5 separate regions of the Homo sapiens genome follow, and regions 1, 2, 3 and 5 are each linked to region 4. Evidence: promoter capture Hi-C in 16 types of primary human blood cells and fetal thymus (Javierre and others, 2016). All regions are on one chromosome and are shown on one strand. The core of a region is centred on a gene start or on the middle of the fragment in contact, and the rest is flanking DNA. Distances in the headings are between cores, read along the strand shown.

Region 1 (2,700 bases), core at 135-2,634, 3.7 Mb after region 4:
ATTAGGGTTCAACAAGAGTGTTCCTACTCTTGTCTGGAGCTGTTTGAAATGATTAGCTCATAAAGCAATGTGATCAGCCTTTAGCTTAAAACTCCACCTAAGCAAATTCTTACAGTATAGGATTACACATCCAGGACCCTAAAATTCAGCAGATCTTTTTTACCATCACTTTGGAGGTAAGTCAATAGATATCTATTATAATTCTGAAGTAGTCTGAAAATCCCTGGACATTGCAAGGATATTCTAAGGACATACTTGGCATCTTAAGGGATAAACCCACAGCCTCAGGGCAATGAAGGGAATGTAGCACTATGCCAGATATCATGAGGACACAACAGGCCGCAGGAGCCCAGCATCAATTGATTATGTACAGAACTCTGGCTAGAAGTGGGGAATCAAAAGCTCCAACAAATAATTTATCATGAAAGTTAAAATTGAGGAGAAATGTGGGATTAAATACAAAAAGGAAGATCCATTCTATGCATAAAGGAATGAGGATGGAAGCTTATTGAAGCCATGAGCCATCATCGTTTCAGCTGAACATTGATTAGGCACCTATTATATGCCAAACACATATCCTGTCTAGATTCTAGAAATATATAGAAAAATAGAGTATGAGTAGAATATGAGCTTCAGGCAGACTGACCAACCAAAGGAAATGATCAAAAGCAAAAGTTGGGTCAGTCAGAAATCAAAATGCAGGAAGCTGGCTGGTGTTATACCACAAAGTGTGCTGTTTTTACATGGTATAGAGTCAGTTCCTCTGGTTGAGCCTTCCTTGACCACAGGCAATTAGTCATTGCTTCCTCCATCCCTACAGCTCTCTGTTCTTACCTCTACTGGAGAATTTATCCTGTTCTACCTCTTTTACTTTTTTATTTTCTTTTCAACAGAATTTGTAAGTCTCAATGTTCTACCTCTTTATGTTTGCTTTTCCCTAGATTGTATCTTCAACCCCTAGCACAAACCTTGGCATATAGGAGACATGTAATAAATGTGTTTCCATGATAAGCTTGAATCAATTAATAAAAGAGGAAAGTAACGTGCCTTGTTTGAAACCTCTCTTTAAGGCCACAGGTCTTGTCCTGCTGTATTAGAAAAGGCTGTTCTAAGAAAAAGGACTGAGTTAGAATGAAGTACATCCTTCACTCATCTTACAAAACCCTCTTTAAATTTCTTTAATACATAACTTGATGTAACACTGCAGAACTCTATAACTAAGTTAATGGCAATTCCAATTTAATAATTTTATTTATCAAGAAAGCTATAGGAAATAAAATCTTTCCATTACAGTAACAATTGGTTTGTCTATTGTACACTTCTTAAGGGCAAAAATTAAAAAGCATGTTTAAGGGAAAATAAAAGTTAGACATTTCAAGAAAATTGATATACCGTGAACCTCATCTTTCTATATGATGGTTTTCATATTCACTCGAAGAATGGGATTTAACTCTCTTCTCTCTCTCTCTCATTGTCTCTCCCCACCTCTCTCGCACGTGTGCGCGCTCACACACCCACACCCACCCACACACACAGACACTGTGGTACTTTAGTCTCATTAACAGGTGCCTTTCAGCTACTTCCTTTTTCTAAAACAAGAAGTATTGAGTCAGCAACTTGGCCAGGGGGAACTCAAAACAATGTCTATTAATAATGAAGACTTCCTAATGTTGGCAAAATCTGTTTCCCCTTTAGAAGACTGAGAGAGCAAGCTACTAAAAGTTAGTATCCCTCACGAAGTCAAAGAGATTTAGGAAAAGCTTTCTAGAAGTCTTGATTTAGTTAAAATTTGGGCCACATATTTTGGGACAGAGCCCAGAGTTCTTTATGTTGGCTGTTGATAGAGGCAGCTTCCATTTCAAGATAAAAACTAACAAATAATTAAAATGTGTTAAATATTTACTGTGTTCTAAGTATTGTGATAAGCTCTTGTATGAACTTATTATTTGACCCCAACAACAGCCCTGATAGTGAAGCTGGGAGTGGAGATCTGGTCTTTCTGATTTAAAGGAGATGCTCTTTGCTGTTACCTTAAACTGTGTTCATCTGAAGTCCCTAATTTAGGATAAACGTGGGTGAGACATGGATGGAGTCTCTATTCTGAAGAACTTGCATTCCACAAATTTCTCATTGAGAGAAGCAGAGAAAGAGAATGCCAGTTTCCCAAGATGTCTCAGGAATAGGATTCAGGGTTTGGGATTGAATATCAGACAAACCTACATATTCCCTCCCTCTGCTTACATTGTAAGGTGTTGGCTCATTTCTGAAAGCAAAGGCATTTAAACTATCTCACGGACAACTCACTCTGGCCCAAACCACCACATTCACTTGAAACAAGAAGTGTATGCAGTGGTTCAGGGTGACCCAGCTAAGAGCAGTCCCATTTAAAGCTATTAAGTGTGGTTTCTTTTTCAGTGAGGTCATCCTGTTTAATCTCTCTGAATTGAAACAGCCTATAAAGCAGCCTCTCAAAAAGCTTATCTCAATTTGTTTCTGGGTGGACTAGAAGCTTCAACTTTTTAAGAGTGCCTTCTTAAAGTGAGGAGGAGGAAGAGTTTGGTAGCAAGAGGAAGGACTGGTAAGAAGGACAAAAGCAGTAAAATGTAGTCACATGGAGAAACTACTGAAGGGATTGCAAAAGGACACAGAAAGAGGTTGGGAGCACAGACAAGGAGGAAGTTTGAAGACTCCCTGTCCATT
Region 2 (2,711 bases), core at 200-2,699, 4.2 Mb after region 4:
GTGTTTTCCAAGCCTAAAAGTAACCAAAGCCCCATAGGTTTGCTGAAGGAGACCGTCAAAACTCTAAACTGGTTTAGGTGAAATCCTCTCCAGGCATAGGTATCTCAGTGGAGGTCAGTTTCAGGCTGAGCTTTTTATGAAATCCGCCTAGAAAAGTAAGAGATGAAATGGAGCAAGGGAACTGGAACTTCCACAACTTTCTTTGCAGTGGAAGGTGACTCTCTTGACTTCTAGTATGGATTCCTTCCAGTCCCGTCCTCTTCCCCTTACAATACTCAATTTAATGTACTGAACTCCTCCTTCTGAATCTAGTGCAAAGTACAGTGGTGGACCCTCAGGGGATACCTGGATGGGGAGAGGCAGGGCGTGCATACAGGGCCAAGAATCCTTCGTTCCTGGGATTATAAGCACGGGAAGTCCAGCATCGCAAGCTTCCTGCCGCTACTGGGTATGGTGGTGCAAGGCACAGTCCCATCAGTGTCGATGTGAATGGAGTTGTGAAGTGCACAACTTGTCCAGCCCCTACGCCGAGGCCAGGCCTTTGTTCATGCAGTTGCCTAGTTCTGGTCCTTTGGCTACAAACTCAAAGCTGCCTGGCCAAGAGCCCTTTCACTCACTGTCCCTCTTTCTTCAACTTCTGTTATCCAAGACCCTCTATAGAATCATAGTGAGGGGGAGAGGAGTGCAGCTTCCCATACGGAAGGCGATATGTTTCCCTGACCCACGGATCTGGAAACTTCCGTGGGGCAGGGGCAACCGAGGGGTGCCACCTCTGCGGGCTCCCTGCAAGCTCCTCGGCCGTTCTGGGCAGGGCCGGGAGGGGCCACCAGGTGGCGCAGCCGGAGCCCAGCGCCCCAGCAGGTGCGGGCAGCGCGGAAAGTCCGCGAGTGGGAGTCCCGATGCCGGGCGTGGAGATGTGGGGGAGGAAGTCGGCGGGCGGGCGCCGGCTCCGCGAAGAGCTTCGGCCCTAGCAGATCTCACCGGACGAGCTCTGGCCTCGCGGCCGCCCCTCTACCACCCCTCAGCCCCAGCTCCCTCCCCGAAACCCCGGGCGCAGCGCGCCGGGCGTTCTGGACACGTCCGCCCGTCGCGCTGGTGTCCCGGGACTCCGGCCGACCCCGGCCCCCCTCCGCCCTCAACTTCCCTCGGGGTGTTGGGGCGACGGGCAGGGGCCTCTTTCCCAAGAAAGGACACAGGCGCTCCCGAGGGCCACGGCCGCCTCTACTCACCGCGGAGCCTCTCTCGCCTTGCCCAGGGTGCCCATGGCCGCGGCCCGCGCTCCCGGTGCCGGCTCACCTAGCGCGGCCGGGCGCGGCGCATCGCCCCCGCCACCACCGCCGCCGCCTGCCGGCTCTCTCCCCCCCGGGCCTCGTAGCCCCGGCGCCCGCCAGCCCTCGAGCCCGGCGAGCCCGACCGAGGTGCACCGCAGGCACAAACTTTGTGCGAGCGCGCCCCCTCTGCCTCGCGCGCGCGCTCACACCCGCCTGGCAACCACCTGACACGCTGATGCTGGCGGCTGCAGGAAACGTGCGGCGCCCCGCCGCTCTTCCCCGAAACCTGCCCCCTTTCCGCGGGTGCCCCGGCCTGCGCCTCGCGCGGTTCTCTCACCCCTGCCCGCCTTCGACCTCTCTTGGCCAAAGGGTTAAGTCTCAGGGGAGTTGGAGAGGAGCGGGCTCCCGGCTACCACGCCCGCGCCTTGCAGGGCACCTGTGCCCGTCGACCTCCACCTCAGCTCGGGAAACGGGCTGCGCCTAGCGGCTCCCATGGGACCCCCTTTCCCGCAGCCGACCCGCAGCTTCCACGCCTCTTCCTGCGGCCGCTGCTCGGAGCACTGCAGTGAGGACGCCTTCTCCCCTCCAGGGCCTCTCCTGTATATATCAGAGCGCGGAGTCCGGCAGGGGAAAGGAACGGAAAGACAGTTGTGAAGTTGCCTTAACCTGTGCCCTGGGGTCTCTAGGTAGCCGTCTGCAGGACTGGGCCGTAGACATGTGCCCTGTGCCCTGCGCCCTGCACCTTGGACGAGGGCTGCCTGTGTGGAGGTGCGCTCCACAGGCGTGATCCATATCTGGCCCAGACGCGGCCGCCTGGCGTCGGTGGGTGTAGGAGATGTGGGGACAACTTTCATACAACGTCAGTGCGCACAGAAGACCTGGCCAAGAGGGGCGGCCCATCCGCTGCTTGTCCAGGTGATAGTGCTGATAATCTCAATAGCTAATGATTGAGTGCGGTTGTGCTAAGTGCTTTCTATACATTACCTCATTTAATCCACTCTCCCTGATACAAAGAGATCACTGTTGTAAAGATGAGAAAATGAAGGTTTAGAGAATGCTATGCCTTAGATCATACAACTAATAAACAGCAGAGAGACCTCTGACTTGGACTGAGGTCTGTCTGACTCCCTGTAATCACTGCTGGACTGCCCTAATAACACACTCATTATCACGGCCACAGACCATAACTCTAGCCACAGTCATAGTTGTCTTCCTGGCCATAGTGTTCTGGACTTTAAAGCCTTCCTCTGTTTCATTTATATATTTCCTTATATTTATATGCTACCTTGTCCTTAAAACAGAATTCGAGATAGCTTACAAGAGCACATAACCTACAAAAAGAAGTGTGTGAAATGAAAAATGAGGCACACAAGATGGAGCCAAAAATGAACATCATTTGAAATAAATGCATCTCATAGAGTCAAATACCCTTGCTACAGG
Region 3 (2,700 bases), core at 12-2,511, 4.3 Mb after region 4:
TTAAGAGAGCTGACTCAGACCAGACCGCCTAGATGCAGATATTAGCTCTGCATTGACTAGCTTTATGACCTGGTTAGCGAACCTCTCTGTTCCTCAGTTCCATCATCTGTGAAATGCTGACAGTAATTGTAGTACCTATCTGTTGGGAGGCTTAGATGAGTTAATATATGCAAGGAGTTAAGAACAGAGCCAGGCGTTCTATAAGTGCTATGTAGGTGGTGTTAGTGCTTTCTATAAAACACCATCATTTAATTGACCAAAGTCCCTTCATTCTGATTTTTTTTTTGTTTTTTTTTTTTGGATAATGTTGTGATGGATTCTCTTCTTCTTTCTTCTTCTTCTTCTTCTTCTTCTTCTTCTTCTTCTTCTTCTTCTTCTTCTTCTTCTTCTTCTTCTTCTTATTCTTCCTCTTCCTCTTCTTCTTCTTCCTCTTCTTCCTCTTGTTTTGATGGATTCTCTTCTTCTTCTTCTTCTTCTTCTTTTTCTTCTTCTTCCTTCTTCCTTCTTCCTCTTCCTCTTCCTCTTCTTCTTTTTTTTTGAGACAGAGTCTCACTCTGTCACCCAGGCTGGAGTGCAGTGGTGCCATCTCGGCTCACTGCAAGCTCCGCCTCCTGGGTTCATGCCATTCTCCTGCCTCAGTCTCCTGAGTAGCTGGGACTGCGGGCGCCCGCCACCACGCCTGGCTAATTTTTTGTATTTTTAGTAGAGATGGGGTTTCACCGTGTTAGCCAGGATGGTCTCGTCTCCTGACCTCGTGATCCACCTGCCTCGGCCTCCCAAAGTGCTGGGATTACAGGTGTGAGCCAGCGCGCCCGGCCAATAGATACACTTCTTCTTGGGGTGGGTCAGGGACATTTGTTTGCCTATTCCCTCAGATACCTTCCTAGAATTAAGATTGCTGTGCTAAAAGGCAAGTGCATTAAAAAAAATTTTTTTTTGATATTTGTTGCCAGACAAGCCAATTACATCATTCGTTGAACCAATTTCCAGAAACAGCGCGATAGTATTTTCTCATACTATCGCCAACACAAGTATAATCATACGTATAAACACTTGTTAGTCTGCTAAGTGGAAAATGAGGTTTTAATTTACATTTATTACTAGAGGGGTTGAACTTTTCATAATTTTGTCCATTCTGTTTCTTTTTTCAAATGGCTACTTATGGCCTCTGCCTATTTTTCCAATGAGTGTTACTTTTTTTTAATATAAAATAACTATACATTAAGCGTACTTGTATTAGTCCGTTTTCACACTGCTAATAAAGACATACCCGATACTGGAAAGGAAAAGAGGTTTAATTGGACTTACAGTTCCATGTGGCTGGGGAGGCCTCAGAGTCATGGCAGGAGGTGAAAGGTACTTCTTATACTTCTTACATGGTGGCGGCAAGAGAAAAATGAGGAAGAAGCAAAAGCAGAAAACCCTGATAAGTCCATCAGATCTCGAGAGACTTATTCACTGTCATGAGAATATCATGGGAAAGATGAGCCCCCATGATTCGATTACCTCCCCCTAGGTCCCTCCCACAACATGTGGAAATTCTGGGAGATACAATTCAAGTTGAGATTTGGGTGGGGACACACCCAAACCATATCAGTATTCTATCACGTTTTGCAAATCTTACATATAAAGCTGACTCATGAAACTTTAATATTGAAGTTTGAGTTAGGCATTATAGCTAGGTTGGGTATGAAAGAGATTACTTTTAAGGGGACTAGTGAACCTTGGTGAAGGGTATGTGGAAGTTCTTTCTATGATTCTTCCATTTTTTTCTCTTGTTTGAAATTATATCAAAATAAGAAGCTCCAACAACCCCCCACTCCACACACACAGCAAATTGATTTATGGGGTAATTGGTGCCCCCACTAACCACACAGCTACCTACCTATTTTTTTTTTCCATTATGTTCGTGGCTGTTGTAATAGAGAGACCCCACGGCCATGTCTGTGGGCAGCCTGGGAAAAGTCTACAAGCTACCCCTACTGAGATCAGCTACATCAAGCTCTGCTCTCCCCTGGCCAGAACCTGGGTCTGCTGAAATAATCATACCCTTTTGGTCTGCTATCATGTGCTCAGTATGCTGCTTGAAACGCTTAAGACCCTGTAGGCCTTCCTAGCCTCTTTGGTTAGGAAGTCCCCTCCTTCTCACTGGTCCCAGGAGGATAGGGGGTGGCAATGCAGCTTGCTTCTGTTTCCTCCATCCCTCATCTGTCTGTGCTGCTTATGCAAAGGCCTACTCACTTAGAGGAGAAAGACTCCACTCTTAGTTCCATCTCTGCAGCTAGAAAGTTAGTCCTTAGGCAGACTGACATACCTGCAGAAACAACCCCCCAACTCTTTATGGCTTAATTCAATAAAAATTTGTGCTACCTATCCAACATGAGCTGTGGAGGATTGGGGTCAAGAAGCATGGGGTTAGTGATGATTCTATGATGGCTGTCCTCCACATACTTACCCAGGGATTCAGTCTAGCAGAGGCTCTGCCACCCATCATGTTACCAGCTACCACAGCAAAGGAAGAGACAAGCATAGAGAAATTATACTCACTTTTCTCTACCTTGGCTCTAAGGGGTCACATATGATTTTCACTCACATCTCATTGGCCTCAATGGTCACAAGGCCTTGCCTAACTGCAAGGTGGCTGGAGAATGCAGGGAGGGCCATAGAACATGTGTGAACCTTGCTGTCTCTGCCCGCTCC
Region 4 (2,700 bases), core at 5-2,504:
GCACGCTTTCCCGGGAGCTAAATCTTACTCGGGAACTAGATCGAGAGCTGAGGTCCGGACTGGTGTCTGACAAACCTGGAATGTCATCGATCTTTGTCGGTGTCACCATGAACCGAACTGAAGCCATCTTGGTGGTGGTTTCTGGAGGATGCATTTTGTTCTTTTTAAGAACAAAAAAAGTGGGGGGAACCTCGCAAAATCTTCCTCTTACGCTAGCTACTTTTGACTGCAATACAAAAGATAACTTGAAAAATAACACATTTCAATAACCTTGATTCACACCACACAAAAAGCCCCAACTAAGAATACTTCTACTCAGAATTCAAGCCGACTGTCCTAGAAAGTGCATCACCAATAGGTGAATATATTTTTTAAGAGAGAAAAAAACAAAAAACAAAAAGACAAAACAATGCCAATCTTGTGTGACTTCTTTCCTTCAGAATGAAGAGCTACCTAGCTAACCCCTCTGGTCCGGGGCTGAAGGCTCAGTGCCATGGTCTCAGGGCAGCAGATGAAGCCTCCCTCCCCTCAGCCCCCAGTTTCCTGTCGAGGTAGTCCTTTATCTGGTGAGTGTCCCACGGTTCTAGTTGGGCGAAGTGCGTGCAGGCAAACCTTTATCAGGCGACTATAGCGTGGATCAGATTGCTAAAAGGTGTACACCCGGCCACCTGTTGTGTATCAGGTGAATACCCCACAGGTCTGGCTGGGGGGAGGTGTATGCAAAGCCACCCGGTGTTTTTGATGTCGACAATCCACTTGGGTCTGGTGGGAAAGGTGCACATGCATAACGGGAAAAATAACCCACACTACTGAGAGAAGGGTGAGCAGAGGAGGATGCAGGGGCAGAGCGGATTCCTGTCTCCGAGAGGTCGGTGGGGGTGGCGCGCCCGCTCTTCTCCTAGCAGAAAGGTCCTCGGGGTCTGGGAGGAGGTTAGCGGATCAAGACACCTCGGACTGCAGCTCAGAGTCGTGGCAAGTCGTAGCTAGTCCACTGAGCCACGGTCCGCTCGCTAGGTTTCTCCTGCGTGTGACAGGACGAGCCACCCCCTTTGCCGGAGGCGCGTTCTCCCCTACCCCCGCCCCGGCGCAGGTCACCCCCTCGTCGTTCTTCCTCAGGGTCCCAGTAGAGGAGGAGACGGCCACGCAGGCTGGCCTGACTGGGCAGCAGGGTGAGGGAGAAGGAGGTCGCAGGTGCAGTATCCCGGCGCCAGCTGATGCGGGTGCGCGCGCAGCTGTTGTTTACTAGCCGGTAACTGTTTCAGAGCCGCGGCGCGCGCAGGGTTCGCGCTGCCGGGGCTGGCGCCCCCTCCCCGGCCCGACGCCAGAGCAGCAGTTACGTGACCTGGCCTCCCCCAGCCCCGGGCCCGACGGGGTGCGCCCGCGCCGCCGCAGCCCTTCCCTTCCCTCCCCGCTTGTTCCTCATTCGAGGTGAACCTTGCGAAGAGAAGCCCGGGGGTGCAGTGAGAGGGCGGAACCGTCCCGCGGGCGCCCGAAAGCCCCGCCCAGCCGCCGCAGCCCGCGGTGACCGAGTGCAGCGCGCCTGCGCTCGCCGCGGGACACGGCAGGCGGGGCGGGGCCGAATACGAGTGGCCAGGGGCACGACGGGAGCTGTAGTCCAGGGCACGGCCCGACCCGCGTGAAGAGGGGAATAATCCTTTTCCTCGGTCCGGCTGTGCTGCACACTCACTCTGGAAGCATCCTAGAGGGCGGGCGCTGCTCCTCACCCTCAGAACCCGGGGAGCCATTTCTCTTTCATGAGTGTCTCTGAAAACATCATTCATGATTTCTTTAACCAGAAACACCGCTCCTATACCTGGGAATAACCCTCATTGTAATTTTTATGTAGAGGTCTACATACAAATAAACCACTTTTATGTAAAAAAAAAAAATTAAAACTATAAAGTAGGCCTGGCGCGGTGGTTCACGACTGTAATCCTAGCACTTTGGGAGGCTGAGGCGGGCGTGATCGATCACCTGAGCTCAGGAGTTCCAGACCAGCCTGGCCAGCATAGCGAAACCCCGTCTCTACCAAAAATTCAAAAATTAGCCGGGCGTGGTGGCGTGTGCCTGTAATCCCAGCTATTCCTTAGACTGAGGCAGGAGAATCGCTTGAGCTTGGGAGGCGGAGGTTGCAGTGAGCCGAGAACGCACCATTGCATTCCAGCCTGGGGGGACAAGAGCAAAACTCCGTCTCAAAGAAATAAATAAATAAAAATAAAACTATAAAGTACCTTAAACACATTTGTCCTACTTTAATTTTTTGTTGTTGTTCTTGTCCTTTTAATAAATGCTATGTCCACTTTCTAGTCAGACTGAAAGTTCCACTAAATAATACGTTTTTTTATACCTGGAGAAGACGTTGATGTATTTTCTCAAATCCATTCCATGTTTTCACCACTACATTTGTCGCTAGAATATTTTTTCTTAGTGTTTATTTAATGTATAAATGGTGGTGTTCGATAAATTCTGACTCACCAATGTTTTGTTTGAAAAGCTATTTCCTATAGCTGTGATCAAGACCTCTAAATTTAACAATCACCTGGGCCCAGAAACTGGCCCCCGGTTTTGCCTGGGGTCTTGGCTCCTCACAAGTGGTTATGTTTAAGCAGCACTCCTAGCAATGGGAACTGTATTCCCGGAAGTTCTCTTTTATCAAATGACACACAAAGTCCAAATCCTTTCAAGGATTAAAGGATCAAA
Region 5 (2,741 bases), core at 46-2,545, 4.3 Mb after region 4:
AGATTCTTATATAATTGGTCTTGGGGGAAGGCATTACTTTTTTACAGATTCCCAGGGGATTCTAATGTGAAGCCAGGTTGGGAACCATTTATGTACAAGAACAAAAACATGAACATCAAAAAAAAAAATAGCCAATTCAGTTAACGTTTAAGGTAAGGAAGAGAAAAATGAGAGATCTTAAAGTAGGAATTTAAAACTCAGAACAACTCTTAAAAATAGTATCTTTGTAAATCATGACTCTCTTATTATAGGCATGCCAAGAGCCAGTAGCTAAAACCATTGGTTTCCTCAATTCTATAAATAAGAAAAGTCTTTGCTTTCTTGTGCTTTCAAAAATGCCCAGCATAGTGCTGTTCTGAGAGAGACAGCTACTTAGAAAACATCAATGCTTTACACCTTCTTCTACTTTGATCCCTTCGTTTCTAGCATTCTCTCCTATTCACTTTTGGAACACACTCAACTGCTTGTTCTGCACAGTGAGCTTCATCTGCAGGAGGACTGACAGCTTTGGGCAAATACACTCTAAACCAACAGCTCCCAGCAGCCCTGGACATCTTCAGATGTGCTGATTTTAGAGCCACAGTTCTTCCTTCTCAAGGATCCCACCATAAAGACAATGCCTACATGTACATATAGAGTTATTGTTGTTGCTTTTGCCTTTTCTTAATTTTTTTTTAATTGTGGGGGAAGGATAGCAAAATTCTGGATGCTTTTAGCTCCATGGTTTGTCTAAATGTGCATGCACACACGTGAACACCTCAAATGATCAAGAATTCCCATCAAGAACAGAACTATTTAAAAATTGTAATGCTCTCCATTGACACCCCGGCTGAAGAGCAATTTTATAGCATAATTATAATGCATTGCATAATTTGGATAAGCTTTTGTTCTCATTGTGATTATCCTCAGAGAGTTCCTTTTTCACCTCCCCCTTCCCACATTGACTGAATTAAGAATATCCAACCCTTAAAGGCTGTTTTGCCTTCAAAGAATAAAAATGATGCTTTAAGACTAAGCGCCTAAGAAGTGATGGGTGGGAGAGAAATTTTGGTACATGACTCACGTCTTTATTGTGGTAAAGGTAATTTTTTACTGTTCTTAAGAAGTTTCTACCTAAGATTTCACTGGGGTAGGGGAAAGTCAGTGGAAGAGAATTATAGGAATCAAAAGTCCTGGCCAAGGTTGTTATTAAACCATATATCATAACATTTTAAAAGAAGGGCCAGAGAGAGGACAGCTGGTAGGTTTATTAATTTGTTCATGCCCATGGGCAAGTCACCAAGCCCTAAGAGTCCTAGTTTGCTCAACTTTACAATGAGGAAACTGAACCAGATGAGCCCTAAAATAGACTCTTACATCCTAGGATTTGGTCATCTGGGAATGTAATACAATTGGAAGATAAGACAATGATGAGAAACCAAATATTAGATCAACTTTTTGTGGACCTTGGGAAAATGAAAAACTCTGATTCACTTTAGACTTAGTGATTTAACAATGAGAATAAAGGATTTTAGGACAACGGTATTTCCAAGTCCCCTGTAAGTGCTGATAATTTTTCTGTAACTGAAAGTGCCCAGTTTTAGTATCTGGCTACAACCAGTAGCCCTTGAAAATGAAATAAGAAGAGTGAAGGTATCAAAATATATTATCAGTCATTAGGCAACCTATACTGAGACTTGGTTAGCATGAATAATTTACAAAGAACACCTGAAGCTTCTTTTTTCTTACGAAGTACTGGATTTTGGAGGAGTTATGTTTTGTTTTTTCCAGCCATACCTAGCATATTTTGGAGGTTATCATAAATATGATAAAATATGCCCTGATATTTTGAAAGCACTTGGAAGATCAGAGGCTGCCACTGTCCATTAAAAATTATCAAGGTAATGCATAAACGTGGTAAAACATCAGTCAGTACTGGAAAATTCAAAATGACAATTTTGAGTCCTCCCTTCCCCTACTTCCTTTCTTTAATGATTTATAATTTTAGCCATTTCGGTGGTCACCTCAGTAAATAATTTGCTGATGGTTTTGTCTCTTGATTTCTTCACTTTCAATAACATTCATTGTCTACTTGCTGTGAAAGGTGAAAATTCAGATCATTCTGTCTTCTTTTACTCCATGCCCTTTCCAATTTTTGATAGTAATGCTATTGATTTTTGTTTTCCTCTTCATTACTTTAGTAACTGCAAATGCTATAATTTTATCTCCATCTCTTCTTCTGTGAAGCCTTAGACCTCTTAACTGTCTGATTCCATCAGATTTTCTGGCCATCCCTGCACAGGATTTCCTTGCTCCACACCCTCTGCTGTTAGTCTGACTCTACCACTTCCTCCAATACACTGTTTCAAAATGTCCTCATCCTTGAAGATGTCAGCTGACATTTAAAAGACGTCCATACTTTTGATCATTCTTATACCAGATGCACACAACACCAGTGTACAGTGTAATGTTAATTTTTACATGTTTATCAGTATCTTTTACAGAGTAATCTGTGTTAGTCTTAACGTCCTACTTAACCTGATCAACTTCTTCAGGACAGACATGGTAGTTATTTCTTTATCTTCCCACAAACAGATGTGCACCAAAGTGCACTCCGTACATGCTGCTGATTAAAATAACTAAAGAGACATTCTCATCCCTTAAGTTACTGTTGACAATTTTGAAGTGTCAGTCCGAAGTCACAGTTTTAGAAGAAAATGAGATTCTTTCCAGCCTAGGAGAGCACTTCTGTTCACCTACTG

Evidence for each region. Contacts are between HindIII fragments. The CHiCAGO score rates a contact against its expected background, and 5 or more counts as called.
Region 1: a contact is called between a fragment that was not itself captured here and the fragment with the promoter of SLC12A6 in region 4, in 1 of 17 cell types (M0 macrophages). The highest score is 6.9, in M0 macrophages.
Region 2: a contact is called between the fragment with the promoter of RASGRP1 here and the fragment with the promoter of SLC12A6 in region 4, in 1 of 17 cell types (activated CD4 T cells). The highest score is 6.0, in activated CD4 T cells.
Region 3: a fragment that was not itself captured here is called in contact with the fragment with the promoter of SLC12A6 in region 4 in 2 of 17 cell types (non-activated CD4 T cells and activated CD4 T cells); the score reaches 7.4 in non-activated CD4 T cells.
Region 5: a fragment that was not itself captured here is called in contact with the fragment with the promoter of SLC12A6 in region 4 in 1 of 17 cell types (non-activated CD4 T cells); the score reaches 7.0 in non-activated CD4 T cells.

The regions. Positions count from the first base shown.
Region 1 is chr15:38,083,744-38,086,443 of GRCh38, forward strand. No RefSeq gene overlaps it. Among named protein-coding and RNA genes, the nearest start is that of LINC01852, 12 kb to the left of the region's middle. RefSeq lists a silencer at 2,272-2,331. The HindIII fragment of the contact is 748 bases long and covers 1,011-1,758 here.
Region 2 is chr15:38,563,365-38,566,075 of GRCh38, forward strand. It overlaps RASGRP1 (RAS guanyl releasing protein 1), which reads right to left and starts at 1,450. Exons shown (of 17, transcript NM_005739.4): 1 at 1,230-1,450. The coding sequence starts at 1,264. RefSeq lists silencers at 747-946, 957-1,176, 1,207-1,446, 1,607-1,656 and enhancers at 1,514-2,025, 1,867-2,056. The HindIII fragment of the contact is 3,108 bases long and covers 430-2,711 here.
Region 3 is chr15:38,680,927-38,683,626 of GRCh38, forward strand. The region is part of intron 1 of LOC105370775 (a long non-coding RNA gene); the gene reads left to right. Among named protein-coding and RNA genes, the nearest start is that of LINC02694, 14 kb to the right of the region's middle. The HindIII fragment of the contact is 4,614 bases long and covers 1-2,700 here.
Region 4 is chr15:34,336,527-34,339,226 of GRCh38, forward strand. SLC12A6 (solute carrier family 12 member 6) reads right to left here and starts at 1,255. Exons shown (of 26, transcript NM_001365088.1): 1 at 806-1,255; 2 at 1-226. The coding sequence starts at 154. RefSeq lists a silencer at 1,110-1,669. The HindIII fragment of the contact is 4,998 bases long and covers 1-2,700 here.
Region 5 is chr15:38,664,736-38,667,476 of GRCh38, forward strand. No RefSeq gene overlaps it. Among named protein-coding and RNA genes, the nearest start is that of LINC02694, 30 kb to the right of the region's middle. The HindIII fragment of the contact is 832 bases long and covers 880-1,711 here.